Linked DNA regions of Homo sapiens: region 1 is linked to region 2. Evidence: promoter capture Hi-C in human tissues and cell types (Jung and others, 2019). All regions are on one chromosome and are shown on one strand. The core of a region is centred on a gene start or on the middle of the fragment in contact, and the rest is flanking DNA. Distances in the headings are between cores, read along the strand shown.

Evidence for each region. The method cuts DNA at HindIII sites, captures the fragments that hold promoters and counts their contacts. A contact is called where the count stands out against the background at its distance.
Region 1: a fragment that was not itself captured here is called in contact with the fragment with the promoter of PITX3 in region 2 in 1 of the 25 tissues and cell types used here (hippocampus).

Annotation. Positions count from the first base shown.
Region 1 is chr10:102,720,460-102,727,031 of GRCh38, forward strand. It overlaps SFXN2 (sideroflexin 2), which reads left to right. Exons shown (of 12, transcript NM_178858.6): 2 at 6,153-6,338; 3 at 6,528-6,572. The coding sequence starts at 6,178. Among named protein-coding and RNA genes, the nearest start is that of SFXN2, 9.1 kb to the left of the region's middle. The HindIII fragment of the contact is 7,636 bases long and covers 1-5,725 here.
Region 2 is chr10:102,237,676-102,244,304 of GRCh38, forward strand. PITX3 (paired like homeodomain 3) reads right to left here and starts at 3,837. Exons shown (of 4, transcript NM_005029.4): 1 at 3,658-3,837. It also overlaps a transcript of GBF1 not described here. RefSeq lists a silencer at 3,699-3,988. The HindIII fragment of the contact is 21,724 bases long and covers 1-6,629 here.

The DNA of each region.
Region 1 (6,572 bases), core at 658-3,157, 480 kb after region 2:
TAGCCGGGCATGTTGGCACATGCCTGTGGTCCCAGCTACTTGAGAGGCTAAGGTCAGAGGATCGTTTGAGCCTGGGAGGTGGAGGCTGGAGTAGTGAGCCATGATCATACCACTGTACTCCCACCTGGGCAACAGAGCAAGACCCTGTCTCAAAAAAAAAAAAAAATCCCATGGTATTTGAAACTTAACATGCAGAAATCAAGCTTACTATTAATATTTTCTCCCTCAAAGCCAATTTTTCTGTGCTCTCCCTGTTAGCACCTATCGCCCAAGTCAGAAACCCTAGGTATCACTCTGGATATTTGTCATGTGTCAACTTGGCTAAGCTAAGCAAGACTCCCGGGATTCCCTCTCTGGTATATTCCAGTTATAGTGGCTACCCAGGAGCACACACACACCATCTTCCAGCTCTTCAGACAAACAGTAATCTAGGTGCTGCTGTGAGGGGATTTTGCAGACCTAATTAAATTCCTCAATTGTTTGGCTTTAAGTTAATCAAAAGGGAGATTATCCTGGGTGGCCTGACCTAATCAGGTGGAAGCCCTTTAAAGGAGGGCTAGAACACCCCTGAACCCCCTCTGAGGTTCTGGACTCTGAGCCATTACCCGCGTTGCTCCCTCTCCCCTGGGATGGTCTGTTGCTGGCCGCCTGCCCTGCTGACTTCAGGATTGCCTAGCCAACAGCCACAGTTATGTGAGCCAATTCGCTAATTCCTTGTGATAAATCAATTTCTATATTTTATCAATATTATATTACGTCAGCATTATATATATTTAGGCCAGGAGTGGTGCATGCCTGTAATCCCAGCACTTAGGGAGGATGAGATGGGAGGATTCCTTGAGCCCAGGAGTTTGAGATTACAGTGAGCTATGATTGCACCACTCCACTCTACCCTGGGCAACCAGCTGAGACCCTGCCTAAAAAAAGAAGAAAAAATTATAAAATCTATATAGATAGATCAACATATATTTATAACATATAAAGTTATATATTTATATATGATTTTATATAGCTATATGAATTATTTATGTTTATATATTATTTTTATATGTTATATTTAAACGTAATTCATGTCTATATAAATAAATGTATATATAAATTTATATATTATAAATATATGTTGCTATATCTATAAATTTAAAAAATTATATATTTATATAGTTATATAATTTATATATTTAGAAAATATATATTATAGTATACAAATATATTTTAGAAATATATAAAATATGTATATGTGTGTGTCATAGCCAGGTGCAGTGGCACACACCTGTAATCCTGGCACTTTGGGAGGCCAAGGCAGGCAGATTGCTTGAGCTCAGGAGTTAGAGGAACTCCATGTTGCCCCATGTTATGTTTTGGTATCTACCTGTCTGTCTGTCTGTAATCTACTGATTCTGCTTCTCTGGTTGAACCTTGACTGATAAAATGTTCCTCTTATACCTATTGCTTAGCAGACCTTAACATTCCGCTTCTTTGAAAGATTCTCTCCTGTTGGTCTCTCCTCTGAGTGCACGTGGGTTCATTTGAGCCCTACCTCTTCTTGCCTGGATTACTGGGGTTCTCGTCCAGCTGGTCTCCCTGCATCCCGTGAGGTCCATCCACATCCTGTTTATTCTCATGACTACCCAGTTTGTTCTTAGTAAACTACATATCTGATCTTGTCACTCTTCTTCTTAAAGTCTTTCAATGACTCCCTGAAGCTTTCAGGCAAACATTTAAAAGCGTCAGCTTTTTTTGTATGACTCCATTTTCTCTCCTCTCTTAGCATATCAATTATACTTCTTTTGAAAACCTTTTTAGTGGTTGCCCAGGAGTCTGCAATGTACATTTATGACTAATCCAAATCCACTTTCAAATAACACTATACCACTGCATGGAGTGTGCAAGTACCTTAGAATGGAGTCCTCCCAATTCTCCCCTCCTGTCCTTGATATTACTGCTGTCATGGATTTCTCTGATCCATAAACTGTAATCACCAAATACATTGTTGCTACTATTGTTTTAAACAAACGTATCTGTTTGTTAACTGTTAACAGTTCAGAATAAGAGAAATAAAGATTTTTATTTGTTTGTTTGTTAGTGTTTTTTCCCAGACAGGGTCTCACTCTGTCGTGCAGGCTGGAGTGCAGTGGCACGATCACAGTTCACTGCAGGCTTAGCCTTAGCCTCCCAGACTCAAGCAGTCCCCGCACCTCAGCCTCCCAAGTAGCTGGGACCACAGGCACATGCAACCACGCCTGGCTATGTTTTTTTCTTTTTTAATTTTTATAGAGACAGGGTCTCACTCTGTTGCCCAGACTGGTCTCAAACTCCTGGGCTCAAGCGATGCTCCTGCCTTGGCCTGCCAAAGTGCTGGGATTATAGGTGTGAACCATCCCACCTGACCAGAAGAACTTCTTTTAACATCTTGTAAGTCAGGTCTGCCAGTGACAAATTTCCTGTTTTGTTTGTCCAAGAAAGTCCTTTTTTTTTTTTTTTTTTTTTTTTGAGACAGGGTCTTACTCTGTCACCCAGGCTGGAGTGCAGTGGCTTGATCTTGGCTCACTGCAGCCTCCGCCTCCTGGGCTCAAGCATTCCTCCCACATCAGCCTCCCCAGTAGCTGGGACTGCAGGTGTGCACCACCACACCTGGCTAATTTTTCTATTTTTTGGTAGAAAAAAAAATACAAAATGAGGTTTCACCATGTTGGCCAGGCTGGTCTCAAACTTTTGACCTCAGGTGGTCCACCGGCCTTGGCCTCCAAAGTGCTGAGATTACAGATGTGAGCTACCATGCCTGGCCGACTAGAAAGTTTTGTTTTTTTTTTTTGACAGAGTCTCACTCTGTCACCCAGGCTTGAGTGCAGTGGCGTGATCTCGGCTCACTGCAACCTCTGCTGCCCAGGTACAAGCGATTCTCCTGCCTCAGCCTCCCGAATTGCTGAGATAACGGGCACCTGCCACTGCGCCCGGCTAATTTTTGTATTTTTAGTAGAGATGGGGTTTCACCGTCTTGGTCAGGCTGGTCTCAAACTCCCGACCTCAGGTGATCCAACCGCCTCGGCCTCCCAAAGTGTTGGGATTACAGGTGTGAGCCACTGCGCCTGGCCCCAACTAGAAATGTTTTAAGGGATATAAAGCAGTTAGTACTTGAGATGATTCTTCTGTAAGATATGGGATAGGTGGAAATGGGTAACGACTAACAGAATCAGATGGTATGCATCCCCAAATAGTAATTCCAATGATCTAGGAAGACCAACATTCCCACACCATCCCTACCACCACAGACTCAGTGTTTCTCAATGAGAGACAGAATTTGTGTATGGAGGATCTGAGTCCAAGCCCTTCTATTAGTATAATTGCATTAATATTATTTGTTTCTTTTTTTTGTTTTAACTTTTACTTTAGATTCAGGGGTACACGTGCAGGTTTGTTACATAGGTAAACTTGTGTCACTGGGGTTGTACAGATTGTTTCATCACCCAGCTACTAAGTTTAGTACCCATTAGTTATTTTTTCTGATCCTCTCCCTCCTCCCACCCTTCACCCTCAAGTGAGCCCCAGTGGGGTCTGTTGCTCCCGTTTTTGTGTCCATGTGTTCTTATCATTTAGCTCCCACTTTTAAGTGAGATATTTGGTTTTCTTACTTATAAATGTGATATTTGGTTTTCTGTTCCTGCATTAGTTTGCTAAGGATAATGGCCTCCATCTTCATCCATGTCCCTGCAAAGGACGTGATCTCGTTCTTTTTTGTGGCTGCATAGTATTCCATGGTGTACATATACCACATTTTCTTTATCCAGTCTGCCATGGATGGGCCTTTTGCATTTGGACAATTTCTACTGACACGTGTTCAGGCTCACTGATTCTTTCCCTGGCCATGTCCAGTCTACTGATGAGTCCATCCAAGACTTTCTTCATCTTTGTTACAGTATTTTTGATTTCCAACATTTCCTTTTGATTCTTTCTTAAGAGTTTCCGGCTGGACGTGGTGGCTCACGCCTGTAATCCCAGCACTTTGGGAGGCCGAGGTGGGCGGATCACGAGGTCAGGAGATCGAGACCATCCTGGCTAACATGGTGAAACCCCATCTCTACTAAAAATACAAAAAATAGCTGGGCATGGTGGTGCACGCCTGTAGTCTCAGCTACTTGGGAGGCTGAGGCAGGAGAACCACTTGAACACGGGAGGCAGAGGTTGAAGTGAGCCGAGATCGTGCCATTGTACTCCAGCCTGGTGGCAGAGCAAGACTCCGTCTCAAAAAAAAAAAGATTTTCCATCACTGCTTATGTTATTTGTCTGTTCTTGTCTGTTGTCCACTTTTCCCTTCAGAGTCCTTAGAATATTAACCATCGTTGTAATTAATTAATTAATTAATTTTAACCATAGTTATTTAAAATTCCTGGTCTGATAATTCTAAAATCTCATATCTAAATCTGATTCTGATACTTGGCCTGTTTCTTCAAACTGCGTTTTTTTTTTTTTTCTTTTTAGTATGCCTTGTAATTTTTCACTGAAAGCTGGACATGATGTACCCTGTGAGAGGAACTGAGGGGTGAGGTTTTGTTTATCTAGGCTATGTTTACTGTTTGCTGTAGCTATAGGTATAAAAGGCTAAATTTTCTTCTGGTGTCCTTGTTCTTATCTCCCTTGCTGTCTATGGGTCTCTAGAGACTTCTTAAATAGGGCCTAAGACTTGTTACTCTTTTTGTTATAATCCTTGTAATGATACAGGAGCCCTGCTGGTGCAGTGGTGAGGTGAGGGAGTGGAGGATCTACAGTCCTGTGATGAGGTCTCAGTCTTCTGGGGAGCCTGTGCCCCTGAACCTTCACAAGAGCTTCTCAGCCTCCCCTTGTCCTCTTTAGGTGAGGCAGGAAGGCAAGAGGTGGCTGGAGTTCTCTTTCCCCAAGTCACTTAAGTTCTGGTACAACCCAAGATGGTTAGGCTCTGGTAAAATAGTTTCCCTCAAGGGTAGACCTTGTTGAGAAGAATAAAAGGGCTGGGCATGATAGTGCATGCCTGTAGTCCCAGCTACTTGGGAGGCTGAGGTTGGAGGATTGCTTGAGCCCAGGAGTTCGAGGTTGCAGTGAGCTATAATCATGCCTGTCAATTACCATTCACTCCAGCCTGGATAAAATAATGAGACTCTGTCTCTAAATAATAAAACAGGCCAGATGCGGCAGCTCACACCTGTAATCCCAGCACTTTGGGAGGCCGAGGCAGAAGGATTGCTTGAACCTAGGAGTTTGAAACCAGCCTGGGCAACATAGCGAGGTGCCATCTCTACAAAAAAATACAAAAATTAGCCAGGGTGGTGGTATGTGCCTGTAGTCCCAGTTACTCAGGAGGCTGACCTGGGAGGTAATAGTTGCATTGAACCATGATCACACCACTGCATCCCAGCCTGGGTGAGAGAATGAGACCCTGTCTCAAAAAAAAAGTAAAATTAAATAAAAAAAAGAAGTATAAAGGGCTTTGGGTGTTTTTTTGTTTGTTTGTTTTGTTTTGTTTTTCCCCCCAAGATGGAGTCTTGCTCTGTCACCCAGGCTCAGGCTGGAGTGCAGTGGTGTGATCTCAGCTCACTGCAACCTCTGCCTCCTGGGTTCAAGCAATTTTTCTGCCTCAGCCTCCTGAGTAGCTGGGATTACAGGTGCCTGGCACTGCGCCCGGCTCATTTTTGTATTTTTAGTAGAGATGGGGTTTCACCATGTTGGCCAGGCTGGTCTCAAACTCCTGACCTCATGATCCCCCTGCCTCGGCCTCCCAAAGTACTGGGATTACAGGCATGAGCCACTGCACCCAGCTGGCTGTTTTTCAAAATGGCTACTTTTCCCATCTCCCCTGCCAGAAACACCTGGGGGTATTATACTATTTAATGGGTGGGCTTTTGTTCCCAGAGCTCTCCAAGCACAGGCACTGTATTGTCCCCTTTTCCAGTCCCTCCTGCTGTATGGTCAAGCACAGAGCTGGCCACCAGCAGGCCCTCAGGAAACACATGTTGGTGCCCAGTTGCTCAATCTGATGACCATTCACTTGGGCCCTCCCAAGCTGAGTCAGACGATGCCCAGTAGCTGGTGAGAGCAGGCAGTCTGCAACAGTGGGACGTGCTCAGGTCCTCTGTGGTGGGCTTTGATTTAGGGGACAGTCATCTTCTTCCTTTGTCCCTTAGGTCCACAGTTTTATGTGTGAGCAAGATGGAGGCTGACCTGTCTGGCTTTAACATCGATGCCCCCCGTTGGGACCAGCGCACCTTCCTGGGGAGAGTGAAGCACTTCCTAAACATCACGGACCCCCGCACTGTCTTTGTATCTGAGCGGGAGCTGGACTGGGCCAAGGTGATGGTGGAGAAGAGCAGGTGAGGGGTCGGGGAAGGGGCTGGAAGTAGTAGGGTAACATTGATGGGGTCCTCTTGGGAGGAGGTGGAAACCGAAGGTGAAGGAATAGGCAGAAATCTCAGGGCTGGGGGCTGGAAGAAGTGAGAGTGGGGAGACTGGGAGACATTGATCAGGCAGGATGGTGACTGCCTGCTGTCCTTGGGTGGCAGGATGGGGGTTGTGCCCCCAGGCACCCAAGTGGAGCAGCTGCTGTA
Region 2 (6,629 bases), core at 2,587-5,086:
TGAGGTCACCAGCTTTATGTTAAAAATGCAAACAAATTTTTCGTTCTATTCCATACTTTAGTCATGGATTATAAAATATTTTAATATAAAAATAAAGCTTTTTTTAATATAAAACCCCCCAATCTTCAAGTGATATCACCACACCAGGAAGATGGGCCCTGTTTAGACTGTGTGTCATGCCTCCTCCACTCCCGTACTGCCCTCCTCCCCCGCCCACCCCACTATGAGAAGCAATGCACCAAGCAGTAGGGGTCACTGGAGGCTTGTATCCAGGGGTGTGACAAAAAACAGCATCTTTGTGACCTTTATTTGACCATGGTGAGCATAAAGGGTTGGGCAGGGAAGAAATAGGAAAGGAGAAACTATTAACTGAAAGGTGTAAAAAAGGCCCCGGGGCAGGACAATGGGAAAGGAGAGATAGAGTTTTGAAAGTTATTCCTCTCTGTCTTCCCCCAACTCTTACCCCACTGATGATCTTTTCCTTTTCCTCCCCATCATTCTTTTCATGAGTCCCTGGCAGTGGCCATGGACACCCTAGACACCCCAAAGCTCAGGACCTAATGGATCCTTCAGGTTAGTCTAGGAGGCATCATTTAGTGTGAATGGAGAAGAAAAGATTCTACTGGCCCCATCCTTCAGTCACCACAAGTCAGCTCTAGCCTGCTGCGTTTGCCCTCCCGTCCTGAACCTGAGTCCTGGGCCAATGTTCCCATCCCTGAGCAGGAGGCAGGCAGAGATATTTGGCCTGGTAGACAGGCTGAGCATTTGGGGAGCTCCCCAGAGTTCTCAGACAGCGGCAGGGGTAGTGGCCAGCATCTGAAGTCCACGATAGGGTGGCCCGTCTGTCATTAAGATCCCTCCTATGGCTGCATCAGGGATGAGATTAGGCTGCTCTAAGTCTCAGCCCCACTTTTCCAAACAAAGATTCTGCAGCTTGGGCATAATAATAGCAGTGCTTCTTATTTATATGATGCTCCTCCATTTGCAGAGGGCCTTCACAGACATAATTTCATTTAACTCGCACAACTGCCCTGCATGGCTGGAGTGCCTATCCCCATTACACCTCTAAGAAGGCAGGATGCAAGGTTACACAGTTTGAAGAGATTTGAAGAGATTCAAACCATCTAGTTCTGCTCTTTCCATGCCTCACTCCCTCCACCCTGTAGCCATTTGTGACTCTGACATGTGCTGATCCTTCCAAACCCTGAAGGATTCCATTTCTACTTCCTGCCTCTATCATCTCTCTGGAAATGAGCTCTGGAAGTATGCTGCCCACTGTGTGCCAAAGAACATTTTTCTATTCATCCTGAGCTTGCATCACTCCAGTTCTAAAAGGCCCCCTCATCTCCAGTTTCAAGATTTGGGGAGCAAGCAATTCTTCTGCATATCTAGGTCTTTTATTATGCTGTAGATTTCCATCCTGTCTCACCTTCCAGAGGACTAAACTTTGAAATTTGCCCTCACCAGCAACCCCTGGCTCCCCATTCTGCCAATCATTCTCTGACCCTACTCTAGGCCCATGACATTCTTCCTAAGAGCCAGTGACCAGGCATGCGTTCAGTTACAAGGCTTTATGCAAGGGTGGGAAAAGGTTCTGTCTTTTGTTTCCAATCACCTTCATTATGATACCACCTCTTTGGCCTTTTTGGCAAAAGCCAACTTTGAGCTAAAGTCTTCAGGGAACCATCTGTAATGCTTTCCCTGTTCCTTTCCTGACACAGAGTCCTTCATTTCACCTATAATTTCAGTGATTTTATGGGAGCACAGCAATGGGAGCACAAGCCCCTGAAAAGTGTATCAGAATGTGATGGGGATAATTGTGGTGTGTCTTTATATTGATCAAAATAGGGCAAATGAAAAACAAAAGTTGAGAATCCTAGCCAGTAATAAGCAAACTTTAGAACTGAGGAATGGACATGGGAGTATGGGGAATACGTATTGTATGTCACTCACAGGTGAAGGGTAAGAAAGGTTGAAACCACTGTTTAGATTACTCATTGCTAAATACAATGCCTTGCACTTGTCCTTGTGAAAACTCAGTCCCCAGCTGGGCTATCTTGCTCACTTATATGGACTCGTTCTCCCTGTTCTGTCCTCTTCAGCATAATTGAGCTGTGGTTAGAATTGGGGTCAGGGTGGATGGTCACTGTATGGGCCCAGCAGAGTCAGGGCTGTATCCCAGCTGCAGGGAAAGTAAACCCGGCTGTTAGGTAGGGCCAAGATATCCTTCCCAACCAGACTGAGAGGGCCAGATAGCCCCCTGTTGGACTCCAGAGTCTGGATTCCATGAGCCTCCTTCCCACCTCCGCTCAGCCACCAGGGTGGTGTTGGGACTGGTAGGGCTGAGGAAGAAAAAGGGAAACAGGACCACAGGATTTGCTTTGCTAATGGGGCTGTAGTTTTCTCTTCTGGCCTGGGCTCCTGCCCACTGTAGGGAAGGAGCCATTGGTCGCCTGATACTCCAGCAAGGAGTCTGGGGGGTGTCTGGTTAATTGTATTGGAATTAGGGGGCAACTGAGGCTGCCAGGGGCTTGTACCCAGCTCCTTCCTGTTTTCCCATTGCCTTTTGTCACCTATTCCTTCCTTTCCTGGTCTTGATTCCCACTAGCAGGCTCCTCATTGGCCTTCTGTCCTCAAATTTGGATTCTGGAAGTACAGAGTGATGCTCTGATCTATTCTGAATTGAAGGGGGCATGTGTCCCAGCCCACCTCACCCCAAGGCCAGGTTGTAGCCTTTACTCTCGCTCCCTGCTCACAGCTTCGCAGCCCGAAGGAGCTGAAACAAGTTTGCAAAGTGTGAGCTGGGATTTGAGGTGACCCACCGCAGCCGACCCCATCGCACACGCAGCAGCTGGGCAGGCGCTGCTGGGTAGACGGACATGCCACCCAGCCAGGGACATTCTGTCCGCCACTGCCAGACACAACTCCCGCTCCGGAGAGACCCACTTCGCTACCCGGACATTCTGTCCGCTCCGAGCCCCATGCACCGCGGACATTCTGTCCGATTCTGAGGCGGCCTCAAGTCAGGACCCTTCTGGGCCCAGACACCCCAAGCCAGATCCACTATACCCGCCGCCTGGTCACTCTGATCCGCACAGCGGCCATCTGACTCAGTCGCGGCCGGGCTCTCACAACACAGCTCCTATTCCAACTGCGGAGCAGCTGGGAAGAGAAGCGTGTGCGACCAGGCGCACCCCGGCTCCCAGCCCCAGGAGTCTGAGCCTAGGCCGAGGGGCATCGGGCGCCGTCAACTGCCCCCACACTGGGGGCCGCCCCGCCAGCTCCCCCGCTGGCCAGGGCCTCTGTAACCCCTTTCGCTCCCTGGCCGCCTGCCCCGTGCCCTGGGATTCCAGGGCGCTTTCTGGTAATGGTTTCCAGACTCCCTACTCCCTGCCTCGCGAAGCCCCTATCCTGGTTTCAAGTCTCCGGCTTCGTTCCGGATCCTCTGAGTCTCCCCCTTCCCTATCCCCTGGTTCTTACCCTGAGTTTCCCTTTTCCCAAGTCCTGGCCCCAGGTCTGCAGTCCGCCCTCCCATTCTCGACCTGTTCCCAAGGCACCGGAGTTCAGCTGCCCCAGGTCTCGTTTTAGGGATTCCAAGGTCCAGCAATAGCTCCTCGGCCCCATGAGCCCCTGTCCTTAGAATGGTCAAACACTCACAGTGCGTCCTGCAACAGGCAGACTCCCAGTAGCGGCGGCTGCGGCGGCGATCTAGAGGGCAGGCAGGGGCCAGGGGCCGGGCACCCGGCCGGAGTGGGGGCCGCCCCCCTGCTCCCGGGCCGCCTCTCCGCTCGGGCGCTCCTGGACTCTCGGAGGGAGTGAGCCTCACCGCGTACTGCCACCCCCAGCCGGCGCCCATTCACTTTATGGCAGACCAGGGCGCCCCCAGCCCGCCGCGGCGAGCCGCGCGCGTCAGGCCCCGCCCCTTTCCAGCTGCCCTGCTGGGGCTCCGCCCTTTCCAGCTGTGGATCTCCAGGCCCCGCCTTTGAGGGAGGGGTCTGGCCGGCGAGACGCCAAGAACCCCGCCCTCTGGCCAATCAGAAGCGCTCTTCAGCAACTCGGCCGCGCCCCTCCCCACGTGGCAGAGACCGCGCTCCGGCTAGGACGCTTAGGCAGAGCCAAGTGGGCGAGAGTAGAGTGGTCCCGGTAGCCACGGGTAAAAGGGATCGGCTGGCAGCGAAGTGGGTTGGGCCGCTACCCCGAGGAAAGTGGATCGGCGCCAGGTGGGAAGGCGCACGGGGCCGCCGGGTCTCAGCGCTCAGACTTCTCTGCCACTCAAGTTTCGCCGATTTTCTCCACTTGTCGCTGTCCGTCTCTCCTCCCTTTTGTCTCTGTTCCAATCCTCCCACGTCTCGCCTTTCTTTCCTCTTCTTTCTCCTCAGCCGCTTCGCTCCTGCTGTTTACCATTCTCCTTCCTCTGCCACTTTAAAAGACTCATTTCTCTTTCTCTCTGCTCCTCTTTCCTCATATCTTTCCTCTTCTTCATTTCCCCCTTCTTCTCCAAGGAAGGTGACTTCGTGGAGACAGCAGGGTTTGGAATGATACAAACCAAAGTAGTATTCCAACGCTGCCACGAACTGCACCATCACTGAGTGAACTTGGACGAGTAACTATCATCTCCCTCCCCGCGCAAAACAATTAAGAGGAGGTTCCTGCTGGATCTCAGGGCTTGGGCTGGGCACTCCAAAGGCATTGCCTTTCAGTCTGTACCCTTGTCTTGCTTAGGCTGTGCTCTCCCTCCTTCAGCAGGGCTGGTTTCCCGCTGGTGGTACCAGGTTAAGTCCTGTGGGCAAGGTGTGGCCTTGGTGCCTGCTGGTTAGGAATTTGCAAGGGACAGGACAGATGACCAAGGAACATCCTGGCAGACTGTGACTTCGGCCCTCTCTGACTTAGGCCTCAATTTCCAGGAAACAGGCTCCTTCTCTTCTCCCAGTTAGGCTATGTTGCTTGGGTGCTCCGAAGAGCCTAAGCCCAGGCCAAACACTGTGGCTCATGCCTGTAATCCCAGCACTTTGGGAGGCCGAGGCGGGCGGATCACAAGGTCAGGAGATTGAGACCACCCTGGCTAACACGGTGAAACCCCATCTCTACTAAAAAATACAAAAAATTAGCCGGGCTTGGTGGCGGGTGCCTGTAGTCTCAGCTACTGGGGAGGCTGAGGAAGAAGAATGGCGTGAACCCAGGAGGCAGAGCTTGCAGTGAGCTGAGATCGCGCCACTGCACTCCAGACTGGGCGACAGAGCAAGACTCTGTCTCAAAAAAAAAAAAAAAAAAGAGCCTAAGCCCAGTCACACAATATGCCCCTAAGGCAAATCTGAGCAGTCATGTCTTGACTGTTCAGTGACTCCCATTGCCCTTAGGATAAAGGTCAAGCTCCCTAGCCTGGCATACAAGACCTTCAGGACCTGACCTTGTCTTCATCTCCAATTTCCTAGTAGTGTCCTGCACACCTCTGGCCCTTCCTGTGAAAGTAACCCATCTTTATATTGTCAATTCCTACTCCTCCAATGTTCCACTCAAGTCTTATTTTCTCTGGGAAGCCTTTTCTGAACTCTCAGTTTAGCCCCTTGCTCTCATGACCCTCAGTGTATACCTTCTATTACACCACCCACCATATTGAAGGGATCAGCTTATGTGTTGTCTGCTATGATAATAAAATTTAGGAGGGTAAGGACCATGTCTGTTATTCCCAGGCATAATGTAGAATCTCAATAAATGTCACACTGAAATCTATGAGGAAGATGTTCTGCCTGGTAAGATGATGATTAGTGGTTAGGAGGGACTAGGGAATTGTCATCTCTCTCCTCCCCATCTCTATTGCACAATCACATGCTTTTAGAATGATGAATTTCTGGAGGTATGTAGAAGTAGATATTGGCGAGCAGAAATTTTTGGCCCACTTAGAGGATTTTCCAATCGGCTTTCCAGGACCTCTCAATCTGAGACAGGCCCAGGACACCAACTCTCAGTTTTCAAATGAAGAGGAAAATGGCTTTGAGGTAATGTGGAAAGAGGTGCTATGATGGTATATCCTCTTTCCCTGACTCTCTTTGGGTGATAGAGGCTAGATCCTCAGCTGGACCCACCGACCAGAAGCCCAATGTGCAGGTGTAGGAAGTTACTGAGGGGTTCTTCACGTCTGATATCTGATGGGTGCTTTACACTAGAGCATCGTGGCCAGGTGTGGTGGCTCACACCTGTAATCTCAACACTTTGGGAGGCTGAGGCGGGTGGATCACCTGAGGTCAGGAGTTCGAGACCAGCCTGTCCAACATGGTGAAACCCCATCTCTACTAAAAATACAAAAATTAGCCTGGTGTGGTGGCAGATGCCTGTAATCCCAGCTACTTGGGAGGCTGAGGCAGGAGAATCACTTGAACCCAGGAGGTGGAGGTTGCAGTGAGCCAAGATCACAGCACTGCACTCCATCCTGGATGACAAAGCAAGACTCTCTCAAAACAAACAAACAAACAAAAGACAAAAAAACAAAACAAAACAAAAAAATAGCGCATCGTAGCACACGGATGGTCTTTGGATGTCTGGTTTTGAGACTACTTTCCTATGTGGTTAGTTATAGAGCTTCCCTGGACTTGGGTCGTCCATAATTGGGAGGATGTATGGAAAGAATTAGG